Regions from separate parts of the Homo sapiens genome. Here regions 1 and 3 are each linked to region 2. The links are contacts of gene promoters, found by promoter capture Hi-C in human tissues and cell types (Jung and others, 2019). All regions are on one chromosome and are shown on one strand. Each heading gives the region's core, a stretch centred on a gene start or on the middle of the fragment in contact. The rest is flanking DNA. Distances are from core to core; before and after follow the strand shown.

What was found. Contacts are between HindIII fragments. The study calls those that stand out against the background at their distance.
Region 1: a fragment that was not itself captured here is called in contact with the fragment with the promoter of NR2C2AP in region 2 in 2 of the 25 tissues and cell types used here (bladder and dorsolateral prefrontal cortex).
Region 3: a fragment that was not itself captured here is called in contact with the fragment with the promoter of NR2C2AP in region 2 in 1 of the 25 tissues and cell types used here (dorsolateral prefrontal cortex).

Annotation. Positions count from the first base shown.
Region 1 is chr19:19,592,113-19,595,543 of GRCh38, forward strand. All of the region lies in intron 2 of PBX4 (PBX homeobox 4), which reads right to left. Among named protein-coding and RNA genes, the nearest start is that of PBX4, 25 kb to the right of the region's middle. RefSeq lists an enhancer at 504-1,128. The HindIII fragment of the contact is 8,394 bases long and covers 1-3,431 here.
Region 2 is chr19:19,201,636-19,205,468 of GRCh38, forward strand. NR2C2AP (nuclear receptor 2C2 associated protein) reads right to left here and starts at 1,779. Exons shown (of 5, transcript NM_176880.6): 1 at 1,388-1,779; 2 at 1,156-1,246; 3 at 835-940; 4 at 696-763; 5 at 1-406. The coding sequence starts at 1,425. The coding sequence ends at 290. RFXANK (regulatory factor X associated ankyrin containing protein) reads left to right here. Exons shown (of 10, transcript NM_003721.4): 10 at 14-231. The coding sequence ends at 84. RefSeq lists a silencer at 755-1,021 and an enhancer at 1,685-1,979. The HindIII fragment of the contact is 14,823 bases long and covers 1-3,833 here.
Region 3 is chr19:19,465,955-19,469,493 of GRCh38, forward strand. All of the region lies in intron 2 of GATAD2A (GATA zinc finger domain containing 2A), which reads left to right. Among named protein-coding and RNA genes, the nearest start is that of MIR640, 33 kb to the left of the region's middle. The HindIII fragment of the contact is 7,140 bases long and covers 1-3,539 here.

The DNA of each region.
Region 1 (3,431 bases), core at 193-2,692, 390 kb after region 2:
CCTCAGGTGATCCGTCTGCCTCAGCCTCCCAAAGTGCTGGGATTATAGGCGTGAGCCACTGTACCTGGCCAACGTGACACATCTTAAATCCAACGCTTTCGAATTCTGCAACATACCTAGTCCCAGGGTCTCAGCAAAGGGACTGTGGCCCGTATCTGGTTCTCCCAGCTAAATTCAAAGCTCTGCAACTAATCAGGGTTTATTTTGTTCTCAGAACAGCTCCTCTAGACACCGAGGAGGACAGCTGTTTCTGGGAAGGAGGGTTTGGGAGGAAATGCATACGCTGAGGGTGTCCTTGGCCTTCAGAGACCACCGCAGGGCAGGAACACCCAGACACTGTGGTGTGGTGAAGCTGACCCCAGGAGACAAGCTTTGAGGGACCTGCCTGCATACCTCCGACAGGCCATTCCTGGGGTTCACCAGGGACTGCTGGCAGTGCATCCGGTGATGCCAGGTTTACATGGAGGACCACGTTCTTTTCAGGCTGCTGTGAGTGATAAGCCCTGTGTTCTAAGTCAGGCCCCCAGACACTGAATCTTCTGAACCTCATAAGGGGAACTGGATGAAAGGGATTTCAGTTAGTATGTATCAGTCACCAGAAACAGTTTTTCAATCAACAAAAACAGAAAGGCACCGGGACAGACCCTGAGAACATAGCGCATCCTAGACCCTGCGCTGGCCAGGAATGGTCATTGTTCAGATGACACAGGTGGGTGTGTGGGGCCCATGAGTGCCGGCCATGAGGGACAGGCCCTGGGTCCCTTTCATGAGTGAGGACAGTGTACGGGGTGGGGCGGCATGCAGCCTGGCTGTGGGTGACTGGTGTGCCCTGGGGAGGCCCCTGTCTCTTAGAGCTTCCCACTGCCCATCTGTAAAACGGGAGAAAAGGGTCTGCCCGAGGCTGTGCAGGGCTCTGGGGAACAACTCGAGGAAGCCCCGAGCTGCCTGCCCAGGCTCCATCAATACCCACCAGACTTAATCTTTGCCGTTGTTGTTGTTGTAGAGACAGGGTCTTACTGTGTTGCCCAGGTTGGTCTCATACTCTTGGGCTCAAGCGATTCCAAAGTACTGGGATTATAAGTGTGAGCCACCATGTCCTGCCCCACCAGGCTTTAAATGCTCTGTGGAAGTTTGGTCTTTACCATAAGGCCTGCTGCAGACTTCAGCCAGAGGGAAATGTGAGAACTGTGGGTTAAATCGAGAAGCACGCCAGGACCCCGGCTCATGGGATTGCCCTTCAAGAGGCGGCCCGTGGGTACCACAGGGTGCAGGATCAGGACCATGAACAGTTTCCTCTGGGCTGAGACTTGGCCATTCCTAGTCACGGGATGAGGACAGATGGAGCAGAATCGAAATCCTGTTTACTTTCCTGCCACTGGCTGGTTTGTCTCCGAGACTAGAAGGCTGAGGTGTTCCTGACATCAAGGCAGGTGGCCCACAGGTGGGACCCACAGCACTCACTGACTGCACTTCCTGATATAAAAAGATACCTGGACACTCCAGGTGACACTCAGGAACAGGCATCCCTCAGCTCCAGGCTTGTGCATTTCAGGGAGGAGCAGTTGCTGTCTCATCCCTGTCCTACTGTACCCCAAAACATACCCTGTACCCAGATGTTTGAGCCAGTCAGTGGGAAGAAAGCATTAGCTTCCAAGGAAATGCCCAGGTGGCCGGTGCTCTGAGCCCTGCAGCGGCCTTGGGACTCAGCTTGGAGGAATCAAAAGTCCTGAGTGGCCAGGCACAGTGGCGCCTGCCTGTAACCCCACACCTTGGGAGGCTGAGGCAGGAGGATCACTTGAGCTCAGGAGTTCAAGGCCAACCTGGGCAACATACTAAGACCTCATCCCCCCAAAAATAGTCCTCAGCGACCCCTAGACATGGTGGTGTGTGCGGAAGCTGAGGTGTGAGGATCACTTGAGCCCAGGAGTTTGAAGCCAATCTGGGCAACACAGTGAGACTCTGTGTCTTAATTAAAAAAAAAAAAAAATAAAAAATAAAAAATTAAAAATGTCGCCGGGCATGGTGGCACATGGCTGTAATCCCAGCACTTTGGGAGGCCGAGGCGGGCGGATCACCTGAGGTCAAGAGTTCAAGACCAGCCTGACCAACAGGGTGAAACCCTGTCTCTACTAAATACAAAAAATTAGCCGGGTGTGGTGGCAGATGCCTGTAATCCCAACTACTCGGGAGGCTGAGGCAGGAAAATTGCTTGAACCTGGGAGGCAGTGAGCCGAGATTGCGCCATTGCACTCCAGCCTAGGCAACAAGAGTGAAACTCTGTCTAAAAAAAAAAAAAAAAGAGTCCTGAGCATGGCCCTCAAAGCCTAGGCAGATGGGGGTAGGGAGGTGGGGCGACACCAGCGGTTGAAATGGACAGACATCTCAGCTGCACTGGCAACAGTTGGTATCAACTCTTGTTTTCCCTCCTGAAACTGCTGAATTTGAGACTAACAGACTCATGCAGTAACATCCACACAGGGGCAGATGGAATTATGAAGAGGCGTGCCCAGGCTGAACACCCACACTCTCAAAAATTGGTTTCTCGTTCAGCCCCAGCAGCTCACTGGTAGGAAGGTCAAGAATGACAGCTTCCTGAGACTACAGTTGATTAAAGTACTTTTTTTTTTTAGACAGGGTCTCACTCTGTCACCCAGGCTGGAGTGCAGTGGCGCAATGTCATCTCACTGCAACCTCTGCCTCCTGGGTTCAAGTGATACTCCTGCCTCAGCCTCCTGAGTAACTGGGATTACAGGCGCATGCCACCACGCCCAGCTAATTTTTGTATTTTTAGTAGAGACGGGGTTTCATCATGTTGGTCAGGCTGGTCTCGAACTCCTGATCTCAGGTGGTCCAACTGCCTCGGCCTCCCAAAGTGCTGGGATTACAGGCGTGAGCCACCGCACCCAGCCTTTAAAAAGTACTTTTTAAAATAGTTTTTTATTATTACTAAATTCCAGATGTTGCATTGCTAAACATCCGCTGTGGGCAGTGGGGAGCCCCCAAAGGCTGCTTCCTGGGGTCAGGGTCAGGGGTGAGCAAGGGACAACTTGGGCTGCCTGTGCCTATTGGTACACATGCCTCAGCAAGTGGTCCTGACACTGGCTTATTTTTATTAGGTGAAAAGTGAAAGGGACCAACATTACACAATTCCACAATACTAAGAAACACGTGACCACAGCCAGTGTCTCCAGGGGGTGGATACACATTGGCTGTGTCCTTCTGAGCGGCTTCCCTCAGCCTGCAGTACTTGGGGCTCATTCGGGTACAGGGCCCCCGCTTGTCCAGCTTACCACACGAATGCTGAAGCACCATCAGGGAGTGCTGCCAGGGAGTTGAGGGCAAATTTGCTTAAAACCAGTTCACCGCTAACAAGAAACTTGTGTGTCTGGTTCCCCAGGAAAGCCTAACCTTTGTGTTTCCATTTCCATGGC
Region 2 (3,833 bases), core at 529-3,028:
TGCCCCATCTCAGTGCAACAGGTGATCGAGAACCACATCCTCAAGCTCTTCCAGAGCAACCTGGTGCCCGCTGACCCTGAGTGAAGGCCGCCTGCCGGGGACTCAGACACTCAGGGAACAAAATGGTCAGCCAGAGCTGGGGAAACCCAGAACTGACTTCAAAGGCAGCTTCTGGACAGGTGGTGGGAGGGGACCCTTCCCAAGAGGAACCAATAAACCTTCTGTGCAGAATGAGGGACTTTGCTGTGCTTCCCGGAGGGCTTCCTGGAGGAGACAGCCCCTAGAGGTCTCACACCTTCTCCCCAAGCACCCGCAGGTGGTAGATGACCACACGGCCAAAAAAGTCAGTGGCATCCTCAAACGTCACCTTCAGCCGGTCCACTTCAGCAGCTGGTATGGGGAAAGTGTGAGCGTGGGCAGTCAAGGGAAACTGGTGATTTCTGGTTTCCCACCCGCAGGCCCCCACCCCTTCCAGACCCAGCTCACACTCCACCGATGTGGGCAACCTGGGGAAGCTGCAGGTCCCTCTAAGCCTCTCACACAGAACAGGTGGTCATCAGCACCATTTTACAGAAAAAGTGGAGTCCTAGAGGTCACGTGTTCAAGATCACACATCAGGGTTCCCATTCGGGTTTGGGTGAGTCCAAAGCTTCCAGAGGCACAGACCACCCACCCCAGAAGCAGGGGCAGGATATCTGAAGCGAGTTGTTGTCCTCAGGGTAGAAATCTACAATCTTGTGGAGAGCCTGAGTGCCCTGTGAACCTTCAGCAGAGAAAGGCAATGAGTGTCTGGGGTGACCCCTGGAACCCCTGCCACCCAGGGCCTTCTAGTACCTTCCAGGCAGCCCCGGCGACTGGAGAAGCCACCCTGAAACTGGATCTGCAGCTGGGAGACACGGATGAGCTGGGGAAACTCCAGCGTCACCCACTGGGAGGGGCCCTGGAAGCAGACAGGGAAACTGAGGCGCAAGCTCACTGCAGGCACAGAGCCCTGCTATGCCTGTCTCATTCACATAGTTCTTGGAATGGAGGGGAAGAAGGAAATTCGGCACATGTTCCTTTCCTGGCCACCCATGAGGGCCCCCTGACGTTCTCAAGGCATGAGATCTGAATCTGAATCACCCTAGAGATGGAGGGTCGAGGGAGGCGCCTCACCTGGTCTGAGTTCCAACATGTCTCCTCATCCTGGTCGAAAAGATGTTTTTTTCCAAACTGCCGAGTGTTGCGATTCAGCACTGAACTCACCCTGGAGGCACCAGGATCAAGGCGAAGAGAGGGGCTGAGACCAGCTCTCAGCTCCGCGGAGGGCCTGACCCCCAGATCTGTCCACTGAGGGCTCGACCCCAGGCTTAGGGCCTCGCCACTGCCTGTCCCCACAGACTCTTACCTGCTCACTGTCTCTGGACAAACCAAAGAGTGGGTCATGTCGGTTCCACAAGACCTCGCAGGGCTTAGGATTGGGCACAGCCTTGGTTCGAATCCCGGCGCCTCCTCAAGCTACAGGGCGGCGCGATCTTGGCTACGCCTTGGCCTGAACGTCCTCACCTGTAACTTGGGACGAGAACCGCCACTCCCTCGCCCACCCCAGTCCTAAATGTCGCCTCGATCAATCCCCTGCCGGAAAATTTGGGAGAGAGGATCAGGGAAACCGCCAATGCCCGGAGGCCAGGCCTTTCACAGGAAACAGATTTCCCGCGGGTTTCGGGGGCGGTGGCTTTTTGTGCGAGGCTGTTTCTCTGCGAATAGCTCTTGGAGCCAAATCTTGGGACCCGGAACCGCGTGGGCTTGGCGCATGCGTGTTGTAATTCAGGCGCCGACCGCGGACGCTCCAGAGGTGGGGTTTGGTTCGACCCCGCCCCTTCATGCTCGCTTCTTAAAGGGCCCGGGTTCGATGATTGAATTTACCTTGGTTCCCTTGAAGCTGTAGGGAAAAGGCTGGCTGCGCGCACGGGGCGCTGTCCCTCGGCGCCCGAAGGTGTAGAGCACTGATTTTGACTGATTTTGGAATCCGAAAGACTTCCTTTTTTTTTTTTTTTTTTTGAGGCGGAGTCTCACTGTCGCCCAGGCTGGAGTGCAGTGGCACGATCTCCGCTCACTGCAAGCTCCGCCCCCTGGGTTCACGCCGTTCTCCTGCCTCAGCCTCCCAAGTAGCTGGGAATACAGGCGCCCGCCACCACGCCCGGCTAATTTTTCGTATATTTAGTAGAGACGGGGTTTCACCGTGTTAGCCAGAATGGTCTTGATCTCCTGACCTCGTGATCCAGCCGCCGGGGCTTCCAAAGTGCTGGGATTACAGGCTTGAGCCACCGCGCCCGGCCTTTTTTTTTTTTTTTTTTTGAAGTGGGGTCTCACTGTCACCCAGGCTGGAGTACAATGGTGGGATCGCGGCTCTCTGCGACCTCTGCCTCCCAGGCTCCAGCAATCCTCCTACCCAGCTTCCCGAATAGTTGGAACTAGTAGGCGCGCGCCACCACGGCAGGCTATTTTGTTTGTTTGTTTGTTTGTTTGTTTTTTGGTAGAGATGAGGTTTCGCCATGTTGCCCAGATTGGTCTCGAACTCCTGGGCTCAAGTGATCCGCCCACCTCAGCCTCCCAAAGTGCTGGGATTACAGGCGTAAGCCACCGCGCCCGGCCAGAGAGACTTCCTATGACAATGTCTTTCTTCCTACTCTAACCTACTCTACCCTAACGGCTACCCTAACCTACTCTAACCTACTCTACCCTAACCACTAAATGCAGCCTGGGAATCCCCGAACTTCACTGCCTCCCGGAGGCCAAAGGCAGAGTTGTGGAAAAGGCCACGATGTTGGGAGTATCTGAAGTCCTCATCAACCCTTTTTGTTCTTGTTGGGACAGAGGAGCCCTGGCCTCCAAGTTTGTCTTTCCCAGAAAATGCTGCTGGGACGTCAAGGAAGGCTTCTTGGAGGAGGGAGCATGCGAGGTCGGGTGTTTTTTGTTGTTTCTGTTTTGTTTTGTTTCGAGACGGAGCCTCACTTTGTTGCCCAGGCTGGAGTGCAGTGGTGTGATCTCAGCTCACTGCAACCTCCGCCTCCCAGGTTCAAGTGATTCCCCTGCCTCAGCCTCCTGAGTAGCTGTGACTACAGGTGCGCACCACTATGCCTGGCTAATTTTTGTATTTTTAGTAGAGATGGGGTTTCGCTATCTTGGCCAGGCTGGTCTCGAACTCCTAACCTCGTGATCTGCCCGCCTTGGCCTCCCAAAGTGCTGGGATTACAGGTGTGAGCCACCGCACCCAGGCTGTGAGGTGGGTTTTGAAGCATGAACAGGAGTTTGCCAAACAAAGCCTCAGATACCAAGCTGAAGATTTGGTTCACTGATTCACTAGACACCTCCTGCAAGCTCTACTGTCACACTGTCATGTCCAGCCTTCTGCTGGATGATGCTGGGGACAGCAAGAGGCCTCAGCTCCAGGCCTGTCCCAGAGGAGCCCCTGATCTGGGCAAGACAGAGGTAGACATAGACACTCCTAGCCCCAAGGGAGAGATGGGGCCGGAGGAGCAGGGGCTCTACCTGGAGGAAGGGCTTCCTGGGAAAGGGGATGTTAGAACTGCACCTTAATAGGGGGTCAGGCGCCAGGAATTCACAAGGGTGAGAAAATCTGGAGTGGGGAGGGTGTCCCAGGCAGGGAGCTTAGCATAAGCCAAGGCCTAGTTGGGTGAAAGACCATGAATTTGAATAAAATATGTGGAGCCACATCCTGCTGGGCCCGGAGCAGTCATGGAAGGTGTTGGAGAAAGGGCAGGACACCATCCGTTCTGCATGAATGGAGGGTTCCAAGACAGAGCAGCCACTGGCAAGAGGCTGTTGTTCCT
Region 3 (3,539 bases), core at 1,014-3,513, 260 kb after region 2:
TTTGGTTATGCTTCCCTGCTTTTCAGATCTAGAGGTCAGAGGGCCAGGAATGCTACACCTACCTTGGTCACTTGGCTAGGGATAGAGTTGGGAGCCCAGCCCAGGGCACCCTCCTCGGAGCGGGTACGGGATGCTCACTCGACTCCATGTTCACTTGGTGCTGGTCTTTGGCTTGCTCTGTTGGTTTGTCCTTAGTCAACACTGATTACTTCAAGAGTGACTTTCCTCATATTCACCTTTTATGAGTCTCTTAAGGTAAAAGCTTGAAATAAAAATAAGACCCAATCTACCACCTATTTCTTGACTTCAAAACCTTCCTTTCTCTCTGTAAAGACAAATTCAGACCCAGCACCTGCTCTTGCATCACCCCTCCCCTTGGAGCTCTCCAGAATGTTCATGCCCAGACACCCACTGAGGGCTGTGGTGTGGCCACAGCTTCCCGGCTGGCCCTCTGACAAACTCCTCTGTGGCCCGTTGCTCTCTCTCCTCACCGCCCACTGGAGTCTTCTCCCTGTGGAGGGCCTGTCTCTCCACGCCTGTTCATAAGGGACAGCTGGTGGCTCCTCACCTTCCCGTGTCAGCTAACCCCACAGGATGACCCCAGCCTGCAGTCTTATGTCAAATTCGTTTTTGGAACCCAAACTGTTGGGATCCTGAGGACTTCAGAGATCATCTGGTGTTCACAGCGTTTAAAATGGGAAGATAAATGGGAAAACCCAAGCCTGCTCCTGTTGACAAAGCCTCCTAGTCTGAGGAAATATACTTTGTAGTCCTGCTGTCCAAAGAGGGCTTTTCTGTCTGACTCTGCTGTCTGCAGTCCCCATTCTAAAACCAAGGTCCTCTTCTAAAGTTCCAGAAATAAAACTATAGGTCCAAGTCTCCTTTTCCTTTCTCTATGTTTTCAGCCAGAGACCAGTCCATGACAGCTCAGCAGGGGTGAGCAGTGAGGGGCTGGTGTGGAGTCAGGGCAGGAAGAGGAGGAGTCCATGTTCATGGGAATCTGCAGTCCATGTGCATGGGGTCCCTTGTGCATTCCTGGGTTGCTGACATGCATTTTCTCCTGTAATCACCATGTTCCCCTGCAGGGTAGGTCAGTGGATTGTGAGGGAGAAGTTAAGTGTTAAAGAAACTCAGAGTTCAGCTGGGCGCGGTGACTCACGCCTGTAATCCCAGCACTTTAGGGGGCCGAGGCGGGTGGATCACAAGGTCAGGAGATTGAGACCATCCTGGCTAACACGGTGAAACCCCATCTCTACTAAAAATACAAAAAAATTAGCTGGGTGTGGTGGCGGGTGCCTGTAGTCCCAGTGACTTGGGAGGCTGAGGCAGGAGAATGGTGTGAACCTGGGAGGCGGAGCTTGCAATGAGCCGAGATCGCGCCACTGTACTTCAGCCTGGGGAAAGAGTGAGACTCTGTCTCAAAAAACAAAAAAATATTGCTAGCACCTCTGAAGCCCCCTCATGCTTGCTTGCTGCCACTGTCTTCCAAGGGTAATCACTTTCTTGACAATATGGATTAGTTTTTCCTGCTTTGGTACTTTAAATAAGTGGGATTATATACTATGTACCTTTTATCTTCCTGCTTTCACTCAGCATTGTGAGATTTACCCATATTGTTGTGCATACCAGTAGTTAATCCATTTTCATTGCTGTATAGTATTTTGTTTATAGAGTTTCTATTTGGGTATTTTTCAAAACTACCTTTTTTTCTTTCATGCTAACTTATTACCATCTTATGACCGAATCTGGGCATATTGAAAGCTAGAGGCAGTTTCTGATGGCTTCTAGGAGAGAGAATTTCCTTTTTCTTTAGTGGCTGGTGAATTGGAATCATCAAGAAATATATATGTTTGCATGTGTGTGTATAGTGTACATATTGCTATGTTGGATGATTTGGAGCATGCAGAGGCAGATACAGTAGTAGAATCAGCTTTCTGCCTCCATCTTTTACTCCGCTCCCTGTCGCTCTTTAACTCAGCAGTTTTTCTCTCTCAGTCTCCCAACTTGTGTGAGTGTTTTATATTCTACATAAATTGAGGGTGGAGGGCAACTTCTGGTTGTGTTGAATGAGGAGATTGGCAGAATTGACAAAAGCAAAATGAAACAATCTCAGCATTCTGGAAAAATTGAGCAGGGGCATACAACAATCTGAGAAGTATTTATGCCTGTAACTGCTGAATTTCAGGTGAGAACAGTGAGACTGTATGGCATTTGGCCTGGAGCTATTCCTATGCCCTCTCCCATCTGTTTGGTAAAGAGGTTCTGTCCAGCCACTGTCAGCTTTGAGGACCAACAGCTTCGCTGTGTGGGTGAAAAGGAGGACTGTTCATTTTAGAGTGGTAGCAACCCTGCCTGTGGTCTTGTAGATGAGAGTGACAGTCTTGGAGATGGGCAAGTGGGGAGACACAGCGGCTCTGTTTTAGCCCAAGGTTGGGGCAAGATAGAAAAACTATTTGAAGAAATAATGGGCAAAAACATACTTGAGGAGAAACTCATCCAGGAATCCCAACAAACCCTAAATAGCATAAGTACAAAGAGATCTTGACCTAGATACATCATAGTCAAACTGTAGAAAGCCAAAGAAAAGAAGAAAATCTTGAAAGTAGCAAAAGAAAAACAACTCAGCACATCTGGGGAGCATTAATAAGATGAACAGCTGACTTCTGACTCGAGACAATGGAAACAAAAAGGAGTTGAATGATGTTAAAAGTATCCAAAGAAGAAAACTGCCAACCCAGAATTCTATACCAGTAAAAACAGTCCTTCAAAAATGAAAGCAAAAAAGACATTGTCAGGTAAACAAGACTGAAGGAATCCATTGCTGGTAGACCTGCCAGTTCTTCAGCCTGAAAATAAATGACACGTTGGCAGCTTGAGTCTATGAGAAGAAATAAAGAACACTGGAAATGGTAAATGCATGGGTTAACTGGAAAGACTTAACTAGTTCTGCAGTCTGGAAGCCAACCAAAGGCTTTGAATGATTTGTTGGGTTTATAATATCCACAGATAAAATATATGTCATATTAGTACAAAAGATGGGGAATTAAATGGAGCAATATTGGAGCAAAATTTCTGTATCTTACTGGAATCAAGTTAGCATCAGTCTTATATAGATTGTGATTAAGATGCTTACTGTAATGCCTAGAGCAGCTCTGAACAAAATAACTTTAAAATATAGTTTTTTAAAAAAATCAGGGCTGGGCACAGTGGCTGACTCCTGTAATTCCAGCACTTTGGGAGGCTGAGGCAGGTGGATCACAAGGTCAGGAGACCAAGACCATCCTGGCTAACGCAGTGAAACCCCGTCTCTACTAAAAATACAAAAAAATTAGCCTGGCATGGTGGTGGGCACCTGTAGTCCCAGCTACTTGGGAGGCTGAGGCAGGAAAATGGTGTGAACCTGGGAGGCGGAGCTTGCAGTGAGCCAAGATCGCGCCACTGCACTCCAACCTGGATGAAAGAACGAGACTCCATCTCAAAAAAAAAGAAAAAAAGATCATCAGAATTAAAGTTATACACTAAAAAATATTTAACACGAA